Linked DNA regions of Homo sapiens: regions 1, 2 and 3 are each linked to region 4. The links are contacts of gene promoters, found by promoter capture Hi-C in human tissues and cell types (Jung and others, 2019). All regions are on one chromosome and are shown on one strand. The core of a region is centred on a gene start or on the middle of the fragment in contact, and the rest is flanking DNA. Distances in the headings are between cores, read along the strand shown. Region 1 overlaps RECK (reversion inducing cysteine rich protein with kazal motifs). Region 2 overlaps RECK (reversion inducing cysteine rich protein with kazal motifs). Region 3 overlaps CLTA (clathrin light chain A). Region 4 holds the start of NPR2 (natriuretic peptide receptor 2).

Region 1 (4,718 bases), core at 2,125-4,624, 260 kb after region 4:
GGACAGGGACCATGTCCTCAAACCTAACACTGTCCTTGACTTGTAATAGGTGCTCAGTAAAGGTTTGTTGAGTTAAAATTAATAATAATAATAATCATCATCTACTGAATAAATGGTTTGTGTAACCATCTGAATTAGCTTAGTCATCTTGTTTAACAGTGGAACAACATTTGATGTTTATTTTTTCTCCCTAGGTGCATTGTGTTGTAATCATTCAAAGGATAACCAAATGTGCCGTGATGTATGTGAACAGGTAAGATTACATAATAATTACAGAGGCAGCCAGACACAGTGGTTCATGCCTGTAATCCCAGCACTTTGGGAGGCCAGGGTGGGAGGATTGCTTAAGGCCAGGGGTTCAGGACCAGCCAGGACAACATAGCAAGACCCCTGTCTCTAAAAAATAAAAATAAAATTATAGAGGCTACTAGTTATACAACTATTTATTAAGTATAATTGTTTTTGGAGAAGTCTGTTGGATAGTACCTTAACTAATTGTCCAGGGTTCACATCACCAATAATGGGGCAAAGTGACTGTCTGCTGACATGATACACTGAGAAGGAAAATATTATAATTGCATAATTTGAATTATGAAGAAGTAGTCGGGCAAACCCAGTTTGAGGAATATTCCTCAAAACATCAGCGCCTGTACTCTTTAAAAATGTCAGTGTTATAAAAACAAAGAAAGGCTAAGAAACTGTTACAGATTAAAGGAAACTAAAGAGATGTGACAACAAAATGCAATTTGTGATCCTGGATTGGATCCTGGAATGAAAGAAAATTGCTATAAAGGACATTATCAGGATAAATTGGTAAAATTTGAATATAGACTGGATATTAAATAGTAGTATTATACCAATACTGTGATCCTGAATTTGGTGATTATATTGTGGTTGGGTGTGATGGTGTCCTTGTTCTTAGGAGATACATACTAGGATTTAGGAATGAATGAACATAATGTCTATAACAAATGCTAACATAGTCCTTCAAAATAATAGTATGTAATAATAGTTTGTGTATATATACAGAGAATTAAAGCAAATGTTGCAAAGTGTTTAGGATGGGTGCATCTTGATGAAGACCATGTAGGTATTCACTGTGCTATTCTTAAAAGTTGTCTGTAGGTTTGAATTTTTCTGGTTGAACCTGTTTATGAAAGTTCCACTGAAGCACTACCCATTCATAAAGCCCTACCTTTCTTTCAGGCTTGGTCATGTATGTCTAGCCTTAGCACTCGAGAAACAATAGTCTCAATCATCTTTTAGAGGAGTCTTCAAGTAATAACCTGGATCTTGTTATTTTTAAAACTGAGAGAACTACTTAACTGGGACTATAACTTCTCATAAGCAATAATAATGTAGACGTAGAAAGATTTTGCAAGATACGGTCTGATTATAAGACATGACACTGATTCAGCTCATCTAAATGGCTACCGGAGAATTCAGTGACATGTCAAATCACTATTGCAAATTAAGTTTGCTGCACATTTACTGCCAGAAGAATAGCTTTTTAAAGCAAAAATGGCCCCTTGATGATATCATAAGGAAGCTTTTAAAGTAGTTCTGCTACTTTGGGAAACATGACTTACCTGACTTTTCACTTTGTTTCTTGCTTTTTCTACTGATGTTCTATAGGGTGAATGATTTTTAGGAGGTATCTTGTAATGAGGCACCAGCAGCAGGCAAGGTCTAATTTCTTAAAATCTGGAATGCTAGAAATTATATAACTTAGCAAATTAATTGAATACTATAGTCACCCTAATAAAGAACATTCTTCCCCAACCAAGTTCTTAACTAATTGAGAAATAAGGCAGATAGGTCCAAAAATATTACTCCTATTACTGGTTACACAGATGTCGAATGTGACTTTTATCTCTAGGCACACACTAAGTGACAGAATTAGACTTACTCCCAGAGGAGGAGAGGTAAGGGCTGTGTTACATATGTTTACTTTCCCCTACTAAACTCAATGGTCGGCTAAGTCGCCATCCTGATCATGGGAGAAGTGTATCAGGGGTGTGGAGAGAGACCAGGGCTGTTAAAACTCGTAGAGCTCACTTCAAAGAGAAGGAAATGCTGTGAGTGAGGAATCATTATTTCTTCAACCAGTAGGGAATGCAGACAGGATGGAGTCTTGATGACATTTAGATTTTGAACTGAGTAAACAGCATTCTTGATGACTCTAGGAGGTTAGGGAAAAGATATGGTTTGAGGAGAAGGTGAGCTGTTGAATTATCAGTGAAAACCACTATGTGAAGATAGGGATTTGGAATTAAAACTTTTGGAATTAGAATTTAGATAAGAAGTCAGGGCTGGTAGCTTATCATATTCAGCAAAATATGTGTGATGGTTTACAGTGAAACTGTCAGCAGTGTCAGATGCCAAAGAAAAGTCAAGGAGTTTGAGATCTGAGAAAAGGCCCTTAGTTTAAAAAAAAAAAAAAAAAAAGCCAATTAGTGGAGATTTTAAAAACATCTCCCTGCAGCAGGGATTTTTGTTTGCTTTGTTTATGATGAATTCCGTGGTGCCTAGAACAGTTAAAACAGTATCTAACACTCAAAACTCTCAATAAATATTTGTAGATCAACTGGAGCAAGGGAGCTAAAAGTCACACTGCAGGCATTAAAAATTTTTTAATAAAAATATTTACAGTTATGTAATTTTTTGGACTTACAAAAATGTATTCAGTTTTTGTATATGTCTTACCTGTATATATTATGAATTCCTTGAATATAGGGATTGTGTCTCATTTGCCTATGTTGTATTCATGTCCCTGCTCATGCAAACTAATTAGTTAATATTTTTGAGTTGATTGGTGAAGAAATGGGTACAATGAAAGGAAAAAGCTGGAAAAGTTAGTAAGTGCAGGAAGTAAAGATTAGTTTCAAGATGGAAGGTTTTTACTTGTTTAAAGACAAAGGAAAAATGAGTTATAACAGAGGAAGGAGATAAGTATGGGTAAAAAACTTCTCAGAATTCAAGACTGTAAACCCTATGGTCTGATAATTTCTGCCTTGAGTGGCATACAAGTTTGGTTATTAAATTTTTTGCTCTGAGATGATTTGTATAATTATAGTATATATTCTAGTATGTATTCTGAATAAGCATTCATCTTTCTTTTTAAGTGTGATTACTAGTTGTTTAGCAAGAAAAGTGACTTTATATTCAAGTCTACCTTATTATCTGAAAGTTTACATAGTACCTGCTGGTTTATTTAAGCTAAATGTATTTCTAATAAGTATGTGTTTATCAGTTTAATTCATTCTACTTTATGGGATCATAATTTTAGAGACAGAAGGGACCCAATAGATTATCTAACTTTTTAATTTTGCTTATTAGCTATTCAGGAAACCAGAAACTGGGACCTAAATTTTATTTTACACTTTTCCCTAAGTGCCATGCCCTTTACTATACCCCTTTACATGCATTATTTCATTTAATTCTTACACCCAGCCCTTGAAAAAGGTATTGTCATTATTTGTATATTATAGGTAAAGAAATTGAAATATAGAAGACTTAAATAACTTACCAAGGTCCCAAGCCAATTAGTTGAGGAACAGGGACTCAAACTCAAATGTGTCTGATTACGAAGTCCATACCCTTAGCCACCAGGATATAACTACCTCCTATGAGGCCAAGTAGTTTGCCCAGTGGTATTCAGAGTGTATTTCCAACTCTCAGTTCTATATTCTTTCCATTGTTCTAACCTGTTTCAAGTACTTGTAGGTTTTTTGCCTTTTTTGTTTGTTTTTGTTGTTGTTGAGGGGAGATGGAATTGCAGGAAGAAGAAATGAGTGAGAGAGCATAGCCTTCCCTGTGCTTTTTCCTAGTCTGCTACCAATGTCATATCTTTCGTTTTTTCTTCCTCTTTCTCTTTTCCATTCTTTCTTATCTTTCATTATTGTCTTTTTCAATCGATTTTTCTTTTCTTTCACTCTTCCTTTTGTCTTTTTATAATAGAAAATTTTAAGTATATACAAAGGTAGAGAGAAAAGTGTAATAAACCCCCATATTCAGCTTCAATATTATTAAGTCATGACCAGTTGTGTTTCATTTAAATCTCCTTTTACTTTCCCCACTATACTGAGGCAAATTTATGTAGCAGCAAAATCTCAATTGTCATATTATTTGATCCATAGCTTCAGTTTGGAGCTACAAATGATATGTCATTTAAAAAAAAAATAACCACAATACTGTTATTACTTCTTTGAAAATGTAATATTCAAAAATCTAGTTATTCAGATTTCTTAATTATTTAAAAGGTTTTTTTAGTTTGGATCAGAATTCAAGTGATATATATGTATTGCAGTTGGTTATATGTTTTTTAAATATCTTTTGATCTGTAGGTTTCTCCTTGCAATTTATTTGATGAATTAATTTGATCATTTGTCCTATAGAGTTTCCCATAGTCCAAACTTTGCTATTCACATCCCCCTGGTGTCGTTTAACATTTTCCTTTTTCCTCTGTGTTTCTTAGTAATTGGCAGTTAGATTTAGAGCAGAGCTATCCAATGACACTTTCTACAATGATGAAAATATTCTAGACCTATATGGTAGCCACTAGCCACATGTGCCAGGTGAACACTTGAAATGTGCTTAAAGAGACTGAGGAACTTTAATTTTTAATTTTATTTAATTTTACTTGATTTAAGTTTAAATACCCACACATGGCTAACAGCTACCTTAGCCAGATCCAGAGACTTAGTTTTGTTTAAGTC
Region 2 (4,759 bases), core at 2,200-4,699, 280 kb after region 4:
TGCATATAAAAGTAAATATATATATGTATAGTCCTCCTCTACCCTCCTTTACCACAAATGGTAGTTTACTATACCCTTTGTTCTGCCCCTGGATGCCAGTGTTTGGTGTATATTTATGTATGTCTACCCAGACTGTATACTGTTTCCTCAGGAAATGTCACAATAAAATGTTCTGCTTAAAGATTTCTGTGTATCTATTAATTTTATTTTGTTTCTTTTTCTTTCAAATTAACTTTGGTTCTAGATTTACTACCAGAAGCATAAAGGAAAAGGGATGAAAAATTAGCCCAATTTAGAGATAAGAGGAGCAGGGATATCAGGACCAACAGGATTCTCTGGACAGCTAGAAGCCTCCTAAGCTTCAGTGTGATTGGATCTGTACTGCAGTGGTTCTAAGAATAGAGGAGACCATCTAGTTGTGGCAGATCACAGCCTAGGCTATGGACAGTTTTGTTCCTTGCCCAGTCAGCTTTTAGGGATTTTAACAAAAGGAATCGTGTGATACTTTGCCCCAGCAAAGCCCTCAGGACCTAAAAGTAAAGCATCTTTTAGTTTATGCTGAGGCAACTTCAAGAATTGCCAGGATATAGTAAATAGAAGACTATGAATGAGAGGCTTTATAAATGGTAAAATGCTGTACCGGTATACTGTATCACAGTAGATTTGAGCCGTTACCTGCAGCTGATGAGCTCCAAAAAGAGCGAAACCTATTAGGTCCTGCAGTACTGGCTTAAGATAGTATTAAACTTTGTATGTTGTTTTGGTTTGTCGTATTTGTTTTGTAGTTGGGGGAAGGGAGTAACTCCTATTTAGTCTCCTTGCTGCTAGTGTATTTCCTTTTCCAGTTCATTCTTCTCAGAAGTCACCTGAACGAGATGATTCCAAAAGGGAATTTGATCAAATCAGATTAGATTGCGACCTGGTCTCATCTTAAGTGGCCAAGGTTTTCCCCTTAAGCAATCTCATCTCCCATAGATTTAATTGTTCTTATATGCTGACAACTTCAGAATCTTCATTGCTAACCTTTTTTTTTTTGAGCTCCTGAACACTATTGGATACATGTACTTTTGATGTTCCCTTGGAACAACAAACAATCAAACCAAAATTGATTGATTTTAAATCAACCAAATTGATTATTACTTTCTCTACCTTTTCTGCCTCCCCTTCCCTCCCTTCCACCCCTAAACAGCAACACACAGACACACACAGACACACACAGACACACACACACACACACACACACACACACACACACATCCATCCCAAAACAAAACTTATGATTTTTCTTGCATTTCTTGTTTGGTTGTACCAATATGATCCTTCCAGGCACATCAACTTAAATGCCTGAGAGGTATTGTCTACTCTTTCCTCTTTCTCATCACCTCCTGCAAATTACTGTCTCTCAAGCCTAAAGAGTTGCCTTCTAAATGTACCTTAAATCAGTCTCCCTTTCAGATCCTCAGGTATTGCCTTAGCTTAGGTCTTTCTGCCACTTTTCTGGATACCTATAATAGCTGCCAAACTAGTTTTCCTGTGTCTAATTTCTCCTCTTATCTACTATATCCACTTCTAGATTAATCTCTTTAAAGACCAAATTTGATCCATGTCACTACCTTCCTTAAACCCTTCAGTTGCTTCCCTGTAGAACACAGCTCATGCTCCTCAGCCCAGTATCCCAAGCTTTTCTCAGTCTAGCTCCTGGTTCTTCTCTCTGTTACATTTAAGCAGCATGCTACTTATAGTTTCCCAGATTGACCCTGTTGTTTTATTTGTTAGTTGTAGTTGTACAAATTGTTTGTTCCACCTGGAATTCCTTCTTCTGAATCTTGGAACAAAAAGTATAGTATATTGGAGCTGGCAATACCAGCTCCCTACCAGCTAGGGAGTACTGCTTGTTAAATATTCAGGGATTTTGCAAGCCAGCTTGTAACTTAAAATCAGCCATGGGTGGAGGTATTTGCAGCGTGAACATCAGCAAATACTGCAAATCCAGATTTTCTCCACAACCACCCCCCACAAAAAAAGCTGGTTCCAGAACATCATTACCTCTATTGAACTAGAGTAACCTTTGCCTTAAATCCTGGTTTAAATGGTACCACTTTAAAGCCTTTCCTGCCCATTCATCTTCTCTCCACACACATAAAATTGATCACTACTTCCAAGCCCTTTGCATGCTTTATTATAGCATTTGTCGCTCTATAGCATAACTATGTTTACATGTCTCTTTTTAAACTAATCCCTGAGTTCCTGGGACAGAGTTCATATAATTATCTTTGTCTCTGTCATTCATTCACTTAACATTCATTGAACTGATACACACTGAACCAATATATTTAATATGTATCAGGCATTGTTCTCAGGGTACAAAAATGAAAGGATTTAGTCTGCAAGAAGCTCATAGTCCATGGGAAGAGAGAAATCCAAATAGTCCATTACAATACAGTGAGACAAGTACATTGCTAGAATGTATTGGAGCCTGGAGGAAAAAACCCTGCCTAGGGAAATGGGGAAGTCTTTCACAGAGCAGGTAAGACTTAAAGGATGAGCAGAAAGCTGTTGCCTGTAACAAAGTGCTACAGTCAGTACTTTTATAGATAGAAAAATTTTATAGACTTTTTCCCACTCTGGAGAACAGAATTATTCAAGGTTCTTTGTAACACAGTATATCAGCTTTACGTGGAAACTCTGTGTAAATGTCTTACACTCTTGGAATGCATGGAGAAAGTGCTCATTTTCTACTGTACTGTGGAGAATGTTTTCATTCTGAGTACTATCTATTATCCCAATAATGTTGTATAGTAAACCATCCCAAAACTCCATAGCTTAAAACAGTAACAATTTATTATTTCTCACAAATCTAAGGGCTTACTAGGCAGTTCTGCTCTGGCCAGGCTTAGCTGATTCCAGCTGGGCACACTCATCTGTCTACAATCAGATGGCAGGTCAGCCTGGGGCTGCCTGCTTTAGGAAGCCCTTGGCTAAGTCAGCTCAGATCTTCTCCATGTTTTCCCCTCCCTTTAGCAGACTAGCTCAGGCATGTTCACGTGGTGGTGGCAGGAGTCCAAGAGAGAAAGTGGAAACATGCAAGTGTAGTTCGGGCAACTGCTTACTCCAAGCTTGCTAGTGTCCACTAGGCCAAAGCAAGGCAAGTCACATGGCTAAGGCCAGAGTTACTGTACAATAAATAGATATAAGGAAATGTGAAAAATTGGGGCCATTACTGTAGTCAGTTCACCACAAGCACATACTCTGTGCTAGGCTGTCTTCTAGACCTTGTGTTTCTCTGCAGATGTTACTTGCCAGTGAATTTGCTTCCAGCTGGTTGGGTGCCCTGTGGTGATAATGAGCAAATTTTTCTGAGCAGTCTAGACCTATAAAGCTCATTTCTGTTTTGAGTGTTCATTTTTATTTGCATATCTGTTGAAATGACACATTATTTGGAAGGCTGAAGAAATTTAATAATCACTTGTTTAGTGATATTTCCAAGTCATGACATTAAACTCCTTACATATTCTAGTCATCTATACTTTTTGACATTCATGGTATCCACAAGGAAAAAACACCTTGTAGAGGTTTAAAAACATTTATGTTTTTAAAGAACAGTTATATTTAACCTCTCCTACTTAGCATTTCATAAGCTGGATTTCTTCTATGAAATGTGAAACTTTAAACTGGAAGAAATTTCAACCCATCTGTGAAAAGGAAACAGATTTTTATTTATTGAGGCCTTAGAAACAAAGTAGCCCCTTTACTTTTAAGTAATAGCATAGTTAAGTAGAAAGTACTGGGCATATAAAACATTAACATAACAGTTAATAAAATGTGCTCTTTTGGGTCTTTGTCCAAAAGTAACTAAATCATCCAAAATTCAAACCTGTAATTTTTTTTTACAAGATTCATATGATCAGTGTTTTGTTGTCATCATCTTTATCATTGATGAAAATGAGAGAGAGCTGGAGTAGTCAGTAGTAAAAGGGCAGTGGACAGAGAAAGGATTGAAACAAGTGGACAAATGGAGGAATGAACCATTTTTTTCAAATCCAAAAGCCAAATCAAATTGGACAGCCAGATATACGTAGCAAGCAAAGGGCAGAGCCAGGGCTAGAACCCGGACTGCCCTACCAGTGCTCTTCCATGACACTGCGTTGTGAGAATAGTCTGGTCTCACTGTATTGCAATGGACTATTTGGATTTCTCTCTTCTGAATGCACCCAAAGCAAGGTTGAATGTTTGTTCATAGATTAATCTATTTAACCAGTTTCCTATTTTAAAAATCAATAGAAAAGGGTCACTGAAGTGGCAGAAAATAAATTGCAGAGCGAACTTCTGGGCTAGAGGTTGGACCAGCAGAGTCTACTTCCCAGGTGCACCCAAAGGGTCTTCCCCACCAAAAGGAAAACCAGTGTGGCATGAAGGATCACATAGGGTTCCCTCAACTTTGATTTACTCTGTTTTTGTGCCAGGTTTGCCCACAGTTCATATGCTCCCAACAGTGGATCAAAGGGCTTGTACTACCTGGAATTCCCTCTTCCTGAATCCATCCTAACACACCCCCACCTAGTAATATATTGGAGCTGACATCTACCAGCTTGGGAGTACTAATTGTCAAATATTCAGGAATTTAATCGCGAGAGTAGGGCAGGGAACTAGTTATTGAGAGCAGCTACCAGAGGAAAGATTTTAGGATCAAAAATAATTTTTTTAGGATCAAAATATTTTTAAGGAAAATAATATTAACCTCAAGAAAATGGTGACCTTT
Region 3 (4,224 bases), core at 893-3,392, 400 kb after region 4:
TTTCTTGTAGGAGAAGAAAGAGACATGGGTGAATTAAAGGGAAGCTTTCTGGAGAAGTAATTTTATTGGTAGCAGTGGTGGAGGGAAGTTTAGGGAAATCTCATGCATGATAGTTAATTGTACTGCACATTTGCTGTATACCAGGTACACTTTCAGATCCCAGCAGTAGCTCCACAGGTTAAGTGGTAGTGTCATATTTCAGATGAGAATGGATCGGTGTGGAAGTTGAGCAGTGTCACTAAGGTAGCAAGGTAATAAATGGCTCAAGTGCAGCTTCAAACGTAGGTCTGCTTGACTTCAAATGTTTCTGGAATGTGGAAAGTTGAAAGTGGGTTTGGGACAGTCTTTCACTTTTGAAAACTGGCCCTTTTTCTGTCTGGAGTTCCTGAAAGGCCCTAGAAAGTTTCCTTCTGAAGCATCGTGTTGCTTAGTTTAGTTGTTGTAGTAAGTCAAGGCCCTACATGTCCTTTCTGCATGTTTCCACAGCAACAGACGATCCCTTGGCTTGAGCCAGTTGATTCTTGTAAGAATGTTAGTGCAGTAATACAGTAACTAATAAAGAGGAAAGCAGATGCCAGTGGGTCTGGAGGAGCCTTCAGACAGCATGTGATTTTTAAGGAGATGTGGGATGAGGATTGCTTCTTGTTTTGTATATGGAGTAGTGATCAAAGTCTCTCATATTCCAGCCCAGGGCTGGACTATATTAGTGGATAGTTGGTATGTCAATTGTACTATATTAACCATAATGTAGGCCTGGCCAGACTAGCCACTGTAGGATCTAGGATTTAAAACTATCTCACTCTTCTGTCTTACACAAAAATAAATTCCAGGTGGATTAAAGAGAGACATTTAAAAAGTAAAAGAAGAAAAGTGAGTATTTGTCTATCTCATAATAGGAAAGGCCTTCAGCATAAAAGCAGATACAGAAATCATGAAGAAAAAGTCGATCATGTCTACATACACAAATTAAGTTGTTCCAAGTGTTAAATACCATAAACCAAATCAAAAGAGAAACTAGGGAAAATATTTGACTATTAGAGAGCAAATACTTAGAGATCAAAAAATAGCAGGAAAATAGGCAAACTCAGAAAATTCAGTAAAGAAGAAAATCAGGTGTCGGGTATGTGATTACCTCACTGGAAATAAGATTGGCACAACAAAGCCACCATGAGTTTGTTTTTTTTTTCCATTATCAAATTAGCAAAAATTTTAAAACATGATCAAGCACAGTCCCTAGTATCAGGGAAGGTCTAAGAAATGGGGCACTTGTGCTGCTAGTAGTAATATAAACTGGTAGACTAATAGGAACAAGTGGGTAGAATTTTAGAAGTCTTTGAAATACATATCCTGGGCCAGGTGCGGTGGCTCACGCCTGAAATCCCAGCACTTTCGGAGGCTGAAGTGGGCGGATCACCTGAGGTCAGGAGTTTGAGACCAGCCTGACCAACATAGTGAAACCTCGTCTCTACTAAAAAATACAAAAATTAGCCGGGCATGGTGGCACGTGCCTGTAATCCCAGCTATTCGGGAGGCTGAGGCAGGAGAATCACTTGAACCTGGGAGGCGGAGGTTGCAGCAAGCCGAGATCGCGCCAGTGTACTCTAGCCTGGCCAACAGCGTGAGACTCCGTCTCAAAAAAAATAAAAAAATACATATCCTGGCTGGGCGCAGTGGCTCATGCCTGTAATCCCAGCACTTTGGGAGGCTGAGGTGGGTGGATCGTCTGAGGTCAGGAGTTCGAGACCATCCTGGCCAACGTGGTGAAACCCCCGTCTCTACTAAAACTACAAAAAAAATTAGGTGGGCATGATAGCTCACGCCTGTAGTCCCAGCTACTCAGGAGGCTGAGGCAAGAGAATCACTTGAACAACCCAGGAGGTGGAGGTTGCAGTGAGCCAAGATTGCACCACTGTACTCTAGCCTGGGCAACAGAGCAAGACTCTCTCTCAAAAAAAAATAAAATACATATCCTGTGATCCAGCAATTCCTTTTTTTTCTTTCTTTTTTCTTTTTTTTTTTTTTTATTTTTTGAGATGGAGTCTCGCTCCGTCACCCAGGCTGGAGTGCAGTGGCGCGATCTTGGCTCACTGCAACCTCTGCCTCCCGAGTTCAAGCAATTCTCCTCTTTCAGCCTCCTGAGTAGCTGGGATTACAGGCTCATGCCACCACCCTGGCTAATTTTTGTATTTTTAGTATATGGAGGTGGGTTTCACCATGTTGGCCAGGCAGGTCTTGAACTCCTGACCTCGAGTGATCCTCCCACCTTGGCCTCTCAAAGTGCTGGGATTATAGGTGTGAGCCACCGCGCCCAGCTGTAACCCAGCAATTCTACACCAAGAAATTTATTACAGAGGCGAAATTGAATATGCTTCCCCCATGCTTTCACTAGTTTGATAAACTTCATATTTCCAAAACTTTATAGAGTGCTTAAAAAACTACATAGGTAGGTGGCACATGCCTTAAAGTGGTAAAAGGCCACTGACAAACTATAAGAAACTCATTTTTGTACTGACATATAGGAGTAAAAGTCAACTAGGAAAATTAAGAAAAATATGAGAGGCCAGGCATGGTGGCTCATGCCTGTAATCCAATACTTTGGGAGACCGAGGCGGGTGGATCGCTTGAGTCCAGGAAATCGATAGCAGCCTGGGCAGCATGGCGAAACCCCCTTCCTACAAAAAAATAGAAAAATTATCCAGGCGTGGTGGCGCATGCCTGCAATCCCAGCTCCTGTGGGGACTGAGGTGGGAGGTTCGCTTGAGCCCAAAAGGTCGAGGCTACAGTAAGCCATGATTGGGCCACTTTGCTCCAGCCTGGGCGACAGAGCAAGACTGTCTCAAAGATGAAGCTGCAGGTCTCTGCTCACTATGGGTGATTCCAGGCCACACTTTTTTTTTTCCCTCATGCAGAATTTTCATAGAGAAACACTGTTCTCTTTCTGCTAGTCTTCCATTTGTTACCACTGTAAAATAGAAAACAGAAAATAAAATCAAAAGCTTTTGGACTTGGGAGCTTAAGGACAGATGTGTACACATTTTGGTGAAATTTGTATATAAGCACATCTTGGTTTTATTTGTTGTATATAGCACCTACCACAGGGATAGCATTTAGTAGCTCAAGGTTCATACAGCATATGATGCTGTATTCTACTGTACAACCCTTTGGCCCAGTGTTTGACCAGTCCTTATTGATAGACCAAAATCTTATGTCTTGCAGATGCTGTTGATGGAGTAATGAATGGTGAATACTACCAGGTACAGAGTACTCTGATTCTGTTCATTGATAGTGATTGAGAATCTTCCTTTCCTGTGATTTTAATTGACTGACCTAGAAAGAAACCCCAGTCCTTTGACTTTCCTGAATGTATTACTGGCTGGTGTGTTATCTACCAAAGTGGAAAGATTTAAAGAGAGGTAGCATTGATAAAAAGAGAACTGTTTAAAAATGTTATTTACCTGCCCCTAGTGTTATCACCTTTATTCTAAAGAAATCACCATTCAAATGATACTGTGTTGAGTGCAGTAAGTTAATACTAATACTTTAAATAATTCTCCTTCCATCTTTGTTTATAGTCTGATTAGGTTAACCTGGTAATATTAATATTCCTTAGTTCAGTGAGTGGCATATGGAATAATTTTGTAAAGATTAACATTTATTTGAGTCTTTTTTTTTTTTTTTTTTTTTGAGACAGTCTCACTGTCGCCCAGGCTAGAGTGCAGTGGCACGATCTTGTCTCATTGCAACCTCCACCTTCTGGGTTCAAGCGATTCATCCACTTCAGCCTCCTGAGTAGCTGGAATTACAGGCGCATGCCACCACGCCCGGCTAATTTTTTGTATTTTTAGTAGAGATGGGGTTTCGCCATGTTGGCCAGGCAGGTCTTGAACTCCTGGGCTCAAGTGACCATCCCGCCTTGGCCTCCCAAAGTGCTGGGATTACAGGCGTGAGCCACCGCACCCCGCCAGAGCCACCGCAACCTTGGCTCACTGCAGAACCCGTTTCTAACAACAATGGCGGCTTTTGTAAAATGTTAAAGGATTACCTTAAAAGCAACAACACAGGCCGGGCACGGTGGCTCACGCCTGTAATTCCAGCACTTTGGGAGGCTGGGGTGGGTGGATCATTTGAGGTCAAGAGTTCGAGACCAGCCTGGCCAACACAGTGAAACCCGTCTCTGCTAAAAATACAAAAATTAACCAGGCGGTAGTGGCATGTGCCTGTAAT
Region 4 (4,277 bases), core at 1,778-4,277:
TCAAAAAAAGAAAAAAAAAAAAAGAAAAAGAAAGAGGGTGTTGATTGACCCTATCCAGAAGAAATTATAGCTGGTATCTGTTTGTGGATTAGAAGAAGGCCATGACAGTGCTACAAAGAGAAAGTTGGACCCTAGCTGGTTGCTGCTTAGGCCAGTAGAATCTAGATTTCCTAGGTTTTCTATGTATTGCAGCATGGTCACCAAATACAGCCAAAATATTATTGCCCATATCAATGACAGCAGTGATAGCTTGGATAGTGGGATATATACATAACCGAAGTTCTCATTTATTTAATATTTTCAGCTTTCCCTCAAACATGAAAAAATAAACACCAAAAGCCTTTCACTGTGTGTTAATAAAAAACCTCATTAGGGGATTTATCTTTTATCTCCCCACTCCTTCCCACTTCCCTTTTGTCTTTTAAATTTTATTTTTAGTTTTTACTTATGTTTTCTTTTCCTTTCTTTCTTTCTTTTTTCTTTTGAGATGGAGTCTTGCTCTGTCGCACAGTGGCGCGATCTCTGCTCACTGCAATGTCCGCCTCCCAGATTCAAGCGGTTTTCCTGCCCCAGCCTCCCAAGTAGCTGGGATTACAGGTGCCCACCACCACGCCCAGCTAATTTTTGTGTTTTTAGTAGAGACGAGATTTCACCTTGTTGGCCAGCCTAGTCTCGAACTCCTGACCTCAAACAATCCTCCTACCTTGGCCTCCTAAAGTGCTGGGATTACAGGCGTGAGCCACTGCACCAGGCTCCTTCCACTTCCTTTTTTTTTTTTTTTTTTTTTGAGACAGGGTCTTGCTGTCACCCAGGCTGCCTCTATCCTCTGGGATCAAGCGATCCCCCCACCTCAGCCTCCCAAGTAGCTGGGACCACAGGTTCGTGCCACCATATCTGATTGATTTGTTTGGTTTTTAATAGAGATTATAGGCATTACAGGCAAGAGCCACCGTGCCTGGCCCCTTCCTACTTTCTAGTTAACTGGCCAACTGGGAGGAAAAGGGAAAGGCAAGATGCTTGAATGTTTAATCCCTAACATAATGAAGAATAGTCCTTAATGTTCAGAATAATGACATATGATGCACTTGTACTTGCGTAGGAGTCTGGGTGACAGTGGTGGCTGATCCTCACTGAGGGCTGCAGGTGTTCCAGAGAGACTTGCCTGGGTTTGGTGGCTATTATATTGTAAGCACAGCTTTCTACAGTAAGTTCCATGAGTCAGCAAAATATCTATAAAGAGCCTCTCCTTGGAGACCATGAAACCTGCATTTTAATCTCTCTTTTGCAACTAAAAAGCCATGTGGGATTGGGGGAGAGGAGCAAGTAAGGACACTGCGACCTTCCTCTCTGGGATTTGGTTTTCAATTATCTTTAAATGAGAGGGCTAAACAATATATTTATATGATCCTCTTAGCCCTGCCATTCTGTAATTCTTTCAGGAATTTTGTCATTTTGGATTTGCTTGTCTCATAAAACAATGTGTAGTTGCTTAAAAATCAACTATTCTATTTGGTTGACTTGGTCTAAAGTATTTCTCATGTTGTCTCGTCATTCTTTTGACTGTTCCTTTTTTTTTTTTTTGCCTTGGCCAGATAGGACAAAATTCCTTTTCACTGCAGTATTGGGAGCCTGGAACTAGAGTTACCAACCCCTCTGCGTTAAAGAAGGAGCTGTCCTGAGGCTTCCATCTCTACTGGGCTTGAGGCAAGAACATTGTTAGGGACGGCCTGCTCTTGGCCTCTGTGCCCCAGGGATTGCAAATGCATGTTCCTCAAAGGTAAGGGCTGTATCATTCGGCTTTCTTTGTATTCACAGGTACAGCTTGTGCTAGGCAGCCGGTGTTCAATAAATATCGTGCCTAAGGATAAAGTGGCATTGTCCTTAATTTCCCCCACCAAACCACTAGGTGTCGCCTTCATCTCAGGGAAACCATGCCCGTCCTCGCCCTATACACTCCCACCCCACTCCAGGGCTCCAGGAGCGCTCTTAGCTTGTGATTTCTGGAGAAATAGCTTGAAGGGGGGAGAGAAACCGTGGCTCTTAGCGCGGGCAGAGAATGGGCTTATGTGCATGTCCTTTATGACAGTTGGAGAAAAATCCCCAAGGTCCCATAGCAGTCCCTCTCAGCCACCATGAGATCATCCCTCACAAGCTGTTCTTGGGGTCAGATTGGCACTCCAGATATGAGGGCCCTAGGGAGAGCTTCCTAAGGGAAGCTGGGAGCAAGGTGGAACCCCAGGAGAGCGTGGATGGGCTTCCACTGCGGGGAGTGTCCCGCCGGTCCGTTACAGGCTTTCCCCAGGCGCCAGCCTGCGCTGTGCAGGAGACAAAAGAAAATCGAGGCCCTGACTGAGCAGATGGTGCGGAGGAAGCCGGGCGGGCTGCGGTGGGCCTCTGAGGACACGAGGAGGGCAGGGGGCATGGAGACAGCGGGGGGCCGAGAGTTGAGTCCCAAGCAAGAAGGAGCCTCGTGGACTTTCTAAGGACTGGTGGGAAGTGTACAGCAGGGGCCCCTGGCTGCTGGAGGGGCCCGTCCAGGGAGCGGGCATGGTCCGCGGTGGAGTAAGCCGCACTGCCGTCGGGAGGGCGCTATGGTTTGCTAGGTGAGGGGGCTGGTGAGGATACCACACGTCTGGGGATCCTCGACTGCTTCCTGGAGACTGGAACCACTGAGGGACTCAGGGAGTTCAGAGGGGAGACCCAAGAAGAACGGGCTGAGCGAGGGGGAGAGGACAAACCCTGGGGTCGCTGGCGTGTGTGAGATGGAAATGGAAGGAGGGGCGGCAGGGGGACCAGGGGCGTGGGGGAGACCAGGGTAGGCCCTGAGAGTGAGGGAGCGCCCGGGAACCCTGCTGGCCGGCGAGGCCTTGGTGCGGAGCCCCCAAGTGCTCACCGGGGTGGGTTTGGGACCTGGCGGTCCCGAGCGCCCGGGTGGGGGGTGGGGGAAGGCAGCCGGCGCCGGAGGGTGGGGCCGGGAGGGAGGAGGAGAGGCAGCGGGGGAGGGGCGGGGGCGGGCGGCCTGCCCGGGGGAGTCGCACTCGGCCGCCGGCGCAGCGAGCGGAGACGGGCCGGGCCGAGGCGACCTGACCCGGACGAGCGGCGCGCGCGGGGCCCAGGCGGGGGGCGGGAGGAAGCGCCGGGCAGCGCCGGCCGCCAGGGCCCAGGAGAAGCGGAGCAGAGAGGAGCGGGGACACGGGCGGGGCCGCCGTAGCTCCGGATGGGACCAGCGCCCGGGCCCGTTAGTCCAAGCAGGAGCTCCGGGAGAATCCTTCACAGGGAGATTTACCCCTGCCTTCCCCTGCCCTCCGGCCCAGGCCTCGCTTCGCTCCCCGCCTGCCCATGATCCCAGTCCTTCCGCGGCGCGGGCACCCTCCCACCTTACCCCCTTGGTCCTATGTGGCGCAGCGCCCTCCTGCCCTCCCGGCCCTTTCAGCTGTGAGGTTCCCCCAGGCCGTTTCTTTGTACCACCCGCCCCCCACCCCCACCCCATCCCAGTCCCAGATCCCCTTTTCCTTCTCAGCTTTAGATTTATCAGGCTTCTTCACCTCGCACTGTCCCCATCCTGGCCGCAGGCCCCCTCGGTCCCTCCCTCCCCCTGCCACCCCGTTCTCAGTCCTCAGTCCTTGCCCTAGGCTGGTAGCCCACTCCTTGCCCGCCCCCCGCCTTCCTCCCATCTCCCCCTCCTCTCCCCGGCCCCCAGCACCTTCTGCATCCCAGCCTACCTAGCCTACTCCTCCTCTTCCTGGCCCTCTTCCCCAGGCTCCAGGCTGGGGGGTGCTCGCGTCTCCCCTGTAGGCCAGAGCAGCCCCAAGTTCTGGGGGCGGTGGGGCTGCTGCTTTATCCCCATGGCGCTGCCATCACTTCTGCTGTTGGTGGCAGCCCTGGCAGGTGGGGTGCGTCCTCCCGGGGCGCGGAACCTGACGCTGGCGGTGGTGCTGCCAGAACACAACCTGAGCTATGCCTGGGCCTGGCCACGGGTGGGACCCGCTGTGGCACTAGCTGTGGAGGCTCTGGGCCGGGCACTGCCCGTGGACCTGCGGTTTGTCAGCTCCGAACTGGAAGGCGCCTGCTCTGAGTACCTGGCACCGCTGAGCGCTGTGGACCTCAAGCTGTACCATGACCCCGACCTGCTGTTAGGTCCCGGTTGCGTGTACCCTGCTGCCTCTGTGGCCCGCTTTGCCTCCCACTGGCGCCTTCCCCTGCTGACTGCGGGTGCTGTGGCCTCTGGTTTTTCGGCTAAGAATGACCATTATCGTACCCTGGTTCGCACTGGCCCC

What was found. The method cuts DNA at HindIII sites, captures the fragments that hold promoters and counts their contacts. A contact is called where the count stands out against the background at its distance.
Region 1: a contact is called between a fragment that was not itself captured here and the fragment with the promoter of NPR2 in region 4, in 2 of the 25 tissues and cell types used here (IMR-90 fibroblasts and hippocampus).
Region 2: a fragment that was not itself captured here is called in contact with the fragment with the promoter of NPR2 in region 4 in 3 of the 25 tissues and cell types used here (IMR-90 fibroblasts, stomach and thymus).
Region 3: a fragment that was not itself captured here is called in contact with the fragment with the promoter of NPR2 in region 4 in 1 of the 25 tissues and cell types used here (mesendoderm cells).

The regions. Positions count from the first base shown.
Region 1 is chr9:36,052,071-36,056,788 of GRCh38, forward strand. RECK (reversion inducing cysteine rich protein with kazal motifs) reads left to right here. Exons shown (of 21, transcript NM_021111.3): 2 at 195-253. Among named protein-coding and RNA genes, the nearest start is that of RECK, 18 kb to the left of the region's middle. The HindIII fragment of the contact is 5,209 bases long and covers 771-4,718 here.
Region 2 is chr9:36,072,023-36,076,781 of GRCh38, forward strand. All of the region lies in intron 6 of RECK (reversion inducing cysteine rich protein with kazal motifs), which reads left to right. Among named protein-coding and RNA genes, the nearest start is that of RECK, 37 kb to the left of the region's middle. The HindIII fragment of the contact is 8,058 bases long and covers 1-4,759 here.
Region 3 is chr9:36,194,335-36,198,558 of GRCh38, forward strand. CLTA (clathrin light chain A) reads left to right here. Exons shown (of 5, transcript NM_001833.4): 2 at 3,217-3,254. Among named protein-coding and RNA genes, the nearest start is that of CLTA, 5.5 kb to the left of the region's middle. The HindIII fragment of the contact is 6,945 bases long and covers 1-4,224 here.
Region 4 is chr9:35,788,564-35,792,840 of GRCh38, forward strand. It overlaps NPR2 (natriuretic peptide receptor 2), which reads left to right and starts at 3,028. Exons shown (of 22, transcript NM_003995.4): 1 at 3,028-4,277. The coding sequence starts at 3,846. It also overlaps a transcript of RGP1 not described here. The HindIII fragment of the contact is 19,498 bases long and covers 1-4,277 here.